Regions from separate parts of the Homo sapiens genome. Here region 2 is linked to region 1. The links are contacts of gene promoters, found by promoter capture Hi-C in human tissues and cell types (Jung and others, 2019). All regions are on one chromosome and are shown on one strand. Each heading gives the region's core, a stretch centred on a gene start or on the middle of the fragment in contact. The rest is flanking DNA. Distances are from core to core; before and after follow the strand shown.

What was found. The method cuts DNA at HindIII sites, captures the fragments that hold promoters and counts their contacts. A contact is called where the count stands out against the background at its distance.
Region 2: a contact is called between a fragment that was not itself captured here and the fragment with the promoter of FAM170A in region 1, in 2 of the 25 tissues and cell types used here (hippocampus and psoas muscle).

The regions. Positions count from the first base shown.
Region 1 is chr5:119,627,156-119,632,389 of GRCh38, reverse strand. FAM170A (family with sequence similarity 170 member A) reads right to left here and starts at 2,832. Exons shown (of 5, transcript NM_001367956.1): 1 at 2,552-2,832. The coding sequence starts at 2,621. The HindIII fragment of the contact is 14,754 bases long and covers 1-5,234 here.
Region 2 is chr5:119,591,382-119,596,615 of GRCh38, reverse strand. No RefSeq gene overlaps it. Among named protein-coding and RNA genes, the nearest start is that of FAM170A, 36 kb to the left of the region's middle. The HindIII fragment of the contact is 3,122 bases long and covers 650-3,771 here.

The DNA of each region.
Region 1 (5,234 bases), core at 1,583-4,082:
GCAATATGTAATTTTTCCTGATTGTATGGTGTGGCTTGTATTTATAATGTACATTAATTCATTCATCTGGCAATATTTTCATGAACAGCTACCATGAATCAGACACCAGTCCACTCTTCTAGGCTCTAGGAATACTGAACAAAACAGTCCTTCTTCTAAGTGGACTTTCCATTCTAGACAAGGAAGACAGACATTAAGCAGAAATATATAAGTATATCATAGGTCAGCTCATTATGAATTTATAAGGGTCATCAGATTTAGCAAACAAAAATAGCTGATGCCAAGTTAAATTTGAATTTTAGATAAATTACAAATAATTTTTTTAGCGTAAGTATGTCCCGTGCAATATTTGTCATACTTATTTTTAGTGTCAGTATGTTCCATAAAATATTTGGGACACACTTATACTAAAAAATCATTGGTGGTTTATCTGATATTCAAGTTTAACTGAACATCCTGTATTTTATCCGGCAACCCTAATAAGGGGATGGTGGTGAATCTTTGTTTCGTTGTGGTCTATGCAAAGCAGGCCTGGCTCTGCTACACAATGTGTTGCAGATATGGCATGTATGATGTGTGACTGGCTCTTAAAGAGGTATTTAGAGATAGTTTAACATAGATGTGTTTGTGTGAGAGTTGAGGAGACACACACACACACTCCCCACACACAAGAAATCTCTGTAGGAAGAAAAGACTGTCACACACATGGGTTGTGTGAGTATGTAATAGAGGAACGGTATGTGTATATAACTATATCCACTGTGTGTGGAGGTGTGTGACTCTTTCTCTGTATCAGAGTATATATGGGCATATGAGTGACTGTCTCCTGGAATACCCTTAACAAAAATTCGGTATACACTGTTATGTGTATTGAGTGTTGCCCAGGCCCAGGCATGGTGATAGGAAGTTCACCCCGCAGACCCCACCACTGTGCTCCCATTATCTCCAGTCCTCCCCCTCCCAACACACACACACATGTGCACACACAGACACACACACAGGCAGACAAAACATTCTGAAATGTAAGGGTAGATGAAGGAGAGGAAAACCATTGCCTTCCCCTTCCTGTCCCAGCCCCCTGCTCTCCATGCCTACTCTCCACGCCTCCATTCCCAGGGCTCAACCTACAGGTCTTTATGCCTCATAGGCGCTGCTGAGCTCTAATCGGGGCAGAAGCCTCCAGGGCCATCTCTGGGGCAGGCTCCTTTCTGCCCTGTCTCCTGCATGTGAGCATCCCCCTTTCAGGATAAGTGGCTTGTTTACATTTAATACATGCCATTATCATGCAGCCTGGGAAGTAAATTGACAGCGATCTGAGGCCCTTACCCTGTGCTTCATTTCCTCTGGGAAGTCCCACACTGTGGATTCACAAACTCTATTGGATTAATTGGTTAATTCTTCCCGCTGAAGCAATCAAACCTCCGTGGTTTCACTATGACGCCATCCCTAAACAAGTGTTTAATCTACTTTCTAACAAGCATTTCACTTCTCAAGATATTTTTCAACAAGGCCTTTAACTCATTGGGCTACTCTCGTTTCTGCTAAAAGGTGTAGTGCAAATCATAGACTTCTACCAGCACCCTTCACACCTTCCACCTCAGTCACCCCAGAGAAAGAGCAAATAAAGAGAATACGAGAGAAAGATGAGACTCAGGCTGCATCACTGGGTCTTTGTAAGTGGGTCCCCCGCCTGCCTGAGACTGGCATAGTTCCAGGTACCAGCAGCCCCAGAGCAAAAGTTCTCAGCCCAGCAGGGTTGGCTTTCTGTGTGCCAGTGGCATCTGAACTTCCTGTCCGTCTCACATCTGGGTACCCTCAAGATGGATGTGCGGGCATCAGCCAACAGCCAGGTCTTCCCCTCCCTACTGCATAGGTGGTACATTCTCCTCAGTTTCTCCTCCCTAAAGAAGGCTCAGGCTGGCCGGGAGCGATGGCTCACGCCTATAATCCCAGCACTTTGGGAGGCCGAGGCAGGTGGATCATGAGGTCAGGAGATCGAAACCATCCTGGCTAACACGGTGAAACCCTGTCTCTACTACAAATACAAAAAAAAAAAAAAAAAAAAAAATTAGCCAGGCGTGGTGGCGGGCGCCTATAGTCCCAGCTACTCGGGAGGCTGAGGCAGGTGAATGGCGTGAACCTGGGAGGCGGAGCTTGCAGTGAGCCGAGCTCACACCACTGCACTCCAGCCTGGGCGACAGAGCAAGACTCTGTCTCAGAAACGAAAAAAAAAAAAAAAAGGAGGCCGAGGCAGGCGGATCAGGAGGTCAGGAGATCGAGACCATCCTGGCTAACACGGTGAAACCCCGTCTCTACTAAAAATACAAAAAATTAGCCGGGCGTGGTGGTGGGCACCTGTAGTCCCAGCTACTCGGGAGGCTGAGGCAGGAGAATGGCGTGAACCCGAGAGGCAGAGCTTTCAGTGAGCCAAGATCGCGCCACTGCACTCCAGCCTGGGCGATAGAGCGAGACTCCGTCTCAAAAAAGAAAAAGAAGGCGGCTCAGGCTGGCCAGTGACGCTTGTGCCCCAGAAAGTTTGCCCCGCACATACCTCCTCCCTTCTCAGCGGTTTCCTGGGACTCTTCATTTTCCAAATGTTTCCTCTTTTGTCGTCGTTTCATGATATCAGCTAGAAGAGTTTCTAGAAGATGCTTAATGTCCACCTCCCACTTTTTCCTGTAGATTGGCCCTTCTTGGCTCTCAGGAAATTCATTAAAAAGATTCAGTACGAGTAAACGTAGTTGAATCTCCGAGATAGCTAAAGAACTCAGACCGCTTAGTGAAGGAGCAGCACTGCCCAGTGCCCACTACACTGCAGGGCTGTTAAGGTTCAAAGGTCACCAGGCCCATCGCAGATTCTCTGACATCAATGATGACATCACGGCGTTCTACGGACCTAGGTCCAACACAGTCTGTGCAACTGCAGAGACATCATTTTCAAAAACAATTCCTTTTTTCCAATAGAAGTCCTCTAATGAATTCAACTCTCCCGTATTTCAAATGTGGCAGAATATTTTGAGATGTTAACATGTTCTGTTTAATTTTTTTCTTTTCTTCTTTTTTTTTCACCCTTTCCCTTCTGGACTCAAGCAGGTAGCAGGCTTTGTGTTCATTGCTCAGAGGAGGGGTATGGCAGGGCTGAAAGCAGCAATAGCATGTTAATCATCTTGACTTTTCTTTCTTTTTTTTTTTTTTGTTGTTTTTATTTTGTTTTGTTTGTTCAGAGACAGGGTCTCTCTCTGTTGCCCAGGCTGGATTGCAGTGGTGTGATCATAGGGTCACTTCAGCCCCTAGGCTCAAGTGATCATCACACTTCAGCCTCCCGAGTAGCTGGGACAACAGGCACCAGACACGAGGCACCACACCCGGCTAATTTTTTTTTTTTTTTTTTTTTTTGAGAAACAGGGTCTCAGTATGTTGCCCAGGTTGGTCTTGAACTCCTAGCCTCAAGCTATCCTCCTGCCTCAGGCTCCCAAAGTGCTAGGATTGTAGGCATGAGCCACCACACCCCACCTGACTTTTATTTCTAAAATCTCAAACTCTGTAGGAAAGAGGAAAGTTAGCAGAAACATAACGGAAGCAGGATTTTTTTTAACTAGGCATGCCCCCTTCTTGCTCTACTATAGTGTTGAGAGGTACTGATTAGGTCAGAGAGAGAGAGGGATCTTCAAACTATGGAGGAGAGGAGCCCTCTAAAATGTGGCTGAAGAGGTACATGTGGCAAAAACTTCAAGAAGGGCTGCCTGTATTATGCGTACAGGCAGAATCATGGCGACCTATCTCACACATGGCATAGGAGCCACACCACCTAAAGACTCCCTGGCAGCTGAGCTGATGGGCATCTAAACTTCAGCTGTATGCTCCAATAACCAGAGACTATGCTCTCACCCCACCCTCAAAACCTCAGCCCTGTATGATTTCCAAATAGGGAGGGGTGGAAATCCAAAGAGGACATCAACAGAACCAAGGCTTAAATTACAAATTAAATGGAGTTACATAAGAAAATTGCATACTATTTCCTGCACATCTCTGCTCATGGGCTGAAATGTATACCAGTTATAAGTGGCAACCCATCTGGATCTTCCTGATTCCAATCTAAAATTAGAGACACCTTATTTGGGGCAGTGGCCCCAGTCCAGTGGGACTATTAGTTGACAAGTATGAGGGGGACTCCCAGAAATCACTGCATTAAAAAAGCAGTAGAAATACCCAGAGGACCAAGATGGGCCCAAATTTGAAAGGGCACTGCAGACTGTCCCCAGGCAGAAGGAGAATGAAGATAGGGCAAATGTAGCCTTGTAAAAATTTGCTGATGAGATTAAATCTCCAGTTTCTTAAAGAATCCCTAAAAAAGAGGGGCCAAAGAGCATTTTTTTGGGTGGTAGAAATTTTCAGACTAAAGTAGAGAGAATTGTATAATAGGAATGCAGTTTCATGTACACATAATCCAGTTTCAACAGTTATCAGTATTCTGCCATTCTTGTTCCAACCACCACACACACAGACTTTTAGTCTTTTGTTCATTTCTTTTTATTTAGGTGTTTGAGATAGAGGAGTGGGGGACTTGCTGTATTTTAAAGCAAATTCCAGACATTATGTCATTTCTCCTTGAATGCAGCAGTATGTACCTACAAAGATATGAACTTTTAAAAAGCATAACAGAAATATCATTATCTCACCAAATGAATTTAATCATAATTCTTTTATATAATTTCATAACCAAGCCATACTCAATTTCCTCCAAATATGCTAAAATATCTTTGTATAACTGTATTGTTGAGATCAAGATCCAAACAAAGTCCACACATTGTGATTGGTTGATACATCTTTTAGTCTATAACAGTTCTCCCTCCCTTTTTAAGGCATTCACCTGTTGGAAAAAACTGAGTAATTTATCTTCTAGAATTTTCCACAGTTTGGAAATGGTTAATTGTATTCTTGTGATGTTATCTAGATGTTCCCCTATGAGCTGAATTGCCTTGTAAACAGGTAGTTAGGTCTAGATAATTGATTAGTTTTAGATTCAGTGACATGGGAAGCTTGCAGAGTTTTGCAGGAGAAATTACATTTGAAAAGATCACTCTGGTAACTGTGTTGAGAATAGACTTTTAGAAGGCAAAGGCTGAATCAGAGAGAACAGTGGGCCTATTGCAATAATCCAGGAGAGAGATGAGACTGGTTTGGATCACAATGTTAGATGTGAAAATAATGGATAGTGGTCATCTTCTGGATGT
Region 2 (5,234 bases), core at 961-3,460, 35 kb after region 1:
GTATAACCATATTTAGTTACAAAAAAAAAAAAAAAACAGGGGGATGGGGCAGGGGGACCTACTGGATTTAATCTAGTGACTTTCTATGAGCGATTACTTGTACCCACACGGATAATTCCCAGGCCTTGAGTGTGTGATGCCAGGAAGCACAAAATACATTTTGCAGACATTACTTGGATAGGTTTCCTATATTTGGTAATGATCAGGTTATTAAATATAAAAGATAGAATGTTGTTTCTAGTGAGTACTGGAAAGCAAGTAGCAGTGATATTTAGAACACCAAAGATAGCTTTCCACTCTTCTTCTGGCATCTCACAGTGATTGTCATTGAGAATGCAGAGAGGCATTGGCATCAGTGGGACTGTTTCCTGATTTTTTGGCATTAGCCCACAAACCCAGCAATTGTTCTAGTTTTATGCTAGAATACAAGCTTGAGCTACAGCCATCCACTGATTATGGCCTCATGAATCTTCCTGTAGGAAAAAAGCATCAGGGCAGCAGAAAATGAGGGAAAAAGACAAAAGCATAACGTTTTCATGATGGTACAGAAGTCTTGATCTGTGAATTTGAGAAAGCTGTTAACATTTAAGATGCCATTTACTTCTAGGGAGAAATTTCCATGGTCAGCTTTACCTTAAAGTCCCAACAGGAGTACTGTTCCAAGAATCTGAAAGGGCTCTTTTGAATTGCAACGTGGACCTAGGATTTAAGGCCTTCATTGCAGTGTCAGTGGTGAGAAAAACTTGATATGGTCCCTTCCAATAGGGGTCAGGGGCAGTCTTACTCTGATGTTATTTCCAAAACACCCAATCTCCAAGTTCTAGACCACGAAGTATTTGATTGACCTCAGATGGTGGATCATGTAAAGCTTTTTTTACCTGGTGAAAATACACTTTGGCATAATGCTTAAAGCCTTGCAGCATTTAATCATATCAGAGTTTAAGAGAGCAAGGAATGTGTGAGCTTTTATTATTAGGGACATAGGTTTTCCAGTGACTGTTTCCTAAGAGCTCAACTTACGATTTCTAGTCAGAGTGAATCTGATTACCATTAAAGCCAACAGCAGTGTCTTAGGCCAAGAAAATGCAATTGACTTAGTTAGCATTGCCAATTTCAGTTCTAATATGCCATTTGTTCTTTCAACCTTTCCAGAAGACTGAGGATGATAGAAACAATGATAATGCCATTATGTTCACAATACATTCTTTAATTGCTTTATAAATTGCCCAGTAAAATGAGTTCCCCTACTGCTAGAGATTTCTCTAGGAATGCCCCTTAAGGAAACACATTTTCCAATAATTTCTTAGTTACTGTTACAGCACCAGCTTTCCTACATAGGAAAGCCTCTACCAACCAGGAAACACACAGACTATTACAAGAACATACTAATACCCCACTGAGAGTGGCAACTGAATAAAATCCATCTTTAAGTGTTCAAATAGCCCATCTTATGGTAGGAATATGCTACCTGAAGTTTTGATTGTTTTCCCAGGATTATAAGTTTGACAAACCAAAATATTGGTTATGAACCATTTTAGAAATGTTAGCACAGTAACCCCAACAATATTTTTTCATAACTTGTATCACTTTGTCTTTTCCATGTTGAGTTGTGAAGTGCATAGCTTTTAACAATAGAAGCTTCAAAGACTCAGGAAGGACCAGGTGGCCATCTGGGCCCTCTGTGAGTCCATGCTTAACAATGAATTTGGATCCTTTTTTAACAATGAATTTGTGTCCTTTCAGAGATCACTTTTGTTTCTCCAAATCAAGTGCATTATACTGTTTTCTAAATAGGTCATCATAAGGAAGTTGACTTGGATCGATCTTAGGAGGTTCATTCAGAAAGCATACCCTAACCGTTCCAGCACTAAACGATTGAGCATAAAAACCTACTAGAGAATTCTGTTTTATGTTCAGGTTCAGTTTTATATGCATGAGAGTCAATCTTAATAATGACAATCTGTGATGGTAACAGGATAGTGGAAAGGAGTTCATCCGCATGGAGTCTATTTTTGATGAAGTTCCCACTAGAAATGAGAAACCTTTGGTGTTTCTATAACATACCAAAATTGTGTGCTATGCCAAAGGTATATCAGCCATCTGCATAAATATTTACTGACTTGCCCTCAGCTATATGACAAGCTCAGGTGGGGGCAAAAAGCTCCATGTCCTGAGCTGACTTAAATTGAGGAAGAGCTCCCTTCTCTCTCAACTTATTTTGGGTGGCAATGGCATACCCTGCCCAATATTTTCCTTCTGAATTTTTGGCACAGGGCTCATTGACAAAAACTTATGATTATCCAATGGTGTATCTCATAAATCAACACAAGAGGCAACTATTTCTGATATTATCCTTACAAAATTATAGGCTTCACCATCATCAGACAGGAGTAATGGAATAGCAGAGTTAAGTATGTTGCAGAATTTTAAATAGAGATTAGAAGGAGATTAATTTAACAAGATGTTGGTCTACTTTCTGAAAAATACTGAGTTTGGTTGGCATGTAAAGGACTTCCCACAGTATGTGGGACTTGCAAATTAAGTTTATTCCCTAAAATCAGCTCAGATGAAGCTTCTATCAACTTGGCTGCAGCTGCTTTTAAACAATTAGCATGTACCTTCACTACTAGGTCTAATTGAGGGCTATAATATGCAATGGGCCTATGTTTTCCTCTACGTTCTTGGATAAGAGCTCCTAATTCCTGATTGTTACATTCATGGACAAACAAGGTAAAAGGTTTAGTGTAATTTGGAAGTCCCAAAGCTGGAGGCTGTCGTAAGGCAAAATTCATTTGGTTAAAAGCCTGCTCATGACTGTCTTCCCAAGGTAAAGGCTCTGGTACTGTGTTTCTATCAAGCTCTTACAATGGTGAGGCCATTCAGAAAAAATGCAAGACACAGAATTGGCAATATCCTGCAAGTCCAAGAAAACTTCTTAATTGTCTTCTGGTTACAAGCTGAGGAAAACTTTAAATAGTTTTATTCTTTCAGGCAAGAGGGAAATCCCTTTAGCCGTCAAGTCATAATGGACTTGCTCTTTTGAAAACTGAAGTTTTTTCATCGAAGCCTTGTGACCCTTATATGTGAGTTGCTGTAAAAGGTAAATTTAGTCCATTTTATAGCACTCTTAATGGGAGAGCCTAAGAACAGATCATCTATATACTAAGTAACAGCAGAATTTTGAAGAAACTATAGGGGTATTAAGTCCTGATGCAATATTGGGGAAAAATACAAAGGGCCTTCAGTAAACCCTTGTGACATTACAGTCAAGGTGTACTGCTGGTTTTTCTAAGTAAAAGCAAACAAGTATTGACTCTATTTATGGATTGAAGTGCTAAGGAAGGCTGAGCAGAGGTCTCTGACCTTCCTGTACCTGATGTTCCGCTAGGCCTTAAAAGGTTTCTATTATCATTTTTTTGAATAAGCTTTCTACTTCTTCCTTTTTCACAACTTTCTTGAATTCCAGTGACTCTTAGATTTGTTTTCATTTTGTTTTGTTTGAGGTTATTCTCTATATCTTGTAAGTATTCTTAATTCCTTTCATTATTTTTCTTTTTTCTCCTCTGTGTATTTTCAAATAGCCTGTCTTTGAGGTTACTGATTCTTCATTCTGCTTGATTCATTCTGTTTTTGAGAATCTCTAATGTATTTTACAGTTTAGCAAATGTATTTCTTGGTTCCAGGATTTCTGTTTGATTTTTTATTATTATTTTGATCTCTTTCTTAAATTTCTTTGATAAATTTCTGAATTGCTTTTCTGTGTTATCTTGGAGTTCCCTGAGTTTCCTTAGAATTGCTATTTTGAATTATTGATCTGAGAGCTCACACATCACCATCTCATTAGGAACAGTCACTGGCTCCTTGCTTTGTCTGTTTGGGAGGTCATTGTTCCTTGTTTGCTGTTGTTTCTTGTGGACATACAGCTATAGCGTCACATTGCAGGATTAGTTATTTTTTTCCAGTTTTCACTGTACAGTTTGTTTTGCTCTTAGAGGGTATATTTACTTAGGGTATGTTTATTAGAGTATGTTTACTTAGAGGTTCTTTGCAGTTTCCTATTGAGTCTCCTTAATCCTAGACCACTGCTTCCTTTATGGGACTACATGGCACCTTAAGCTTAGGTTTGCCTCAGCTCTCCCAAATGTTCAGAGCACTGCCTGTCCCATATGGGAAGGGGGTCCCAAATGGGATACACCTGTTCTATGTAAGAAGGTGGCTGGAGGTTGTGTCCAGAAGACCTATGGAAGGTGCCTCCTACAGCATGGTGCTGCAGAACAGCTACTCTGATTGGAAATCTCCTTTGGCTGAGATAAAGAGCAGAATTCACAGGCTGGGATTGCTAGACTCACCTCCCTATTTTGTCTCTAGCTGCTCTTTGGGATTTTTCTCCCTACAGGCACTTGCAATGCTTCCTATGGGTGGAGGCAGGAACAGTTTTCTTGTAAGCGTACCCAAGATGGTGCAGAAGCTGGCTGTCTGCCTCAATCTCACTTTTTCCAGAGTAGAAACCATAAGTCTGAGAAGAATTTTCCATGTGTAATCCCTGGCAGATTGGGAGAGGGGCGTCACGGAGAGAGACGTCACTTTCTCTTACTCTCTGCTCGGAGTTTTGCACTTCTTTGTGGCCCTGGGGATCATCTCAGCCTCATATTTGAGTTCTAGGATATTGCTGGTGATAATCTGGATGCTGGATATTTAGTTTTTTGATGGGAAGAGTGGAGCCAGAATGCTTCTACTCCATTACTTTTGTGACATTACTCCTCCTGAGTAGAGGTCTACTACAGTGAACCACTTCAAATAAGCAGGAACATTAGATAATAAAGTATTGGGATTTGCAATTACAGGAAACCTTGGTATTATAATTGTATTAATTAACTGTAAATCTTGAACAAATCTCCAGCCTCATTCATTTGGCTTTTTTTTTTTTTTTTAATGGAGTTTCACTCATGTTGCCCAGGCTGGAGTGGAATAGCATGATCTCAGCTCACTGCAACCTCCGCCTCCCAGGTTCAAGCAATTCTCCTGCCTCAGCCTCCCAAGTAGCTGGGATTACAGGCATGCACCACCATGCCTGGCTATCTTTTTGTATTTTTAGTAGAGACGGGGTTTCACTGTGGCCAGGCTGGTCTTGAACTCCTGACCTCAGGTGATCCACCTGCCTCAGCCTCCCAGAGTGCTGGGATTATAGGCATAAGCCACCACACCCGGCCTCATTTGGCTTTTTAACTGGTAAA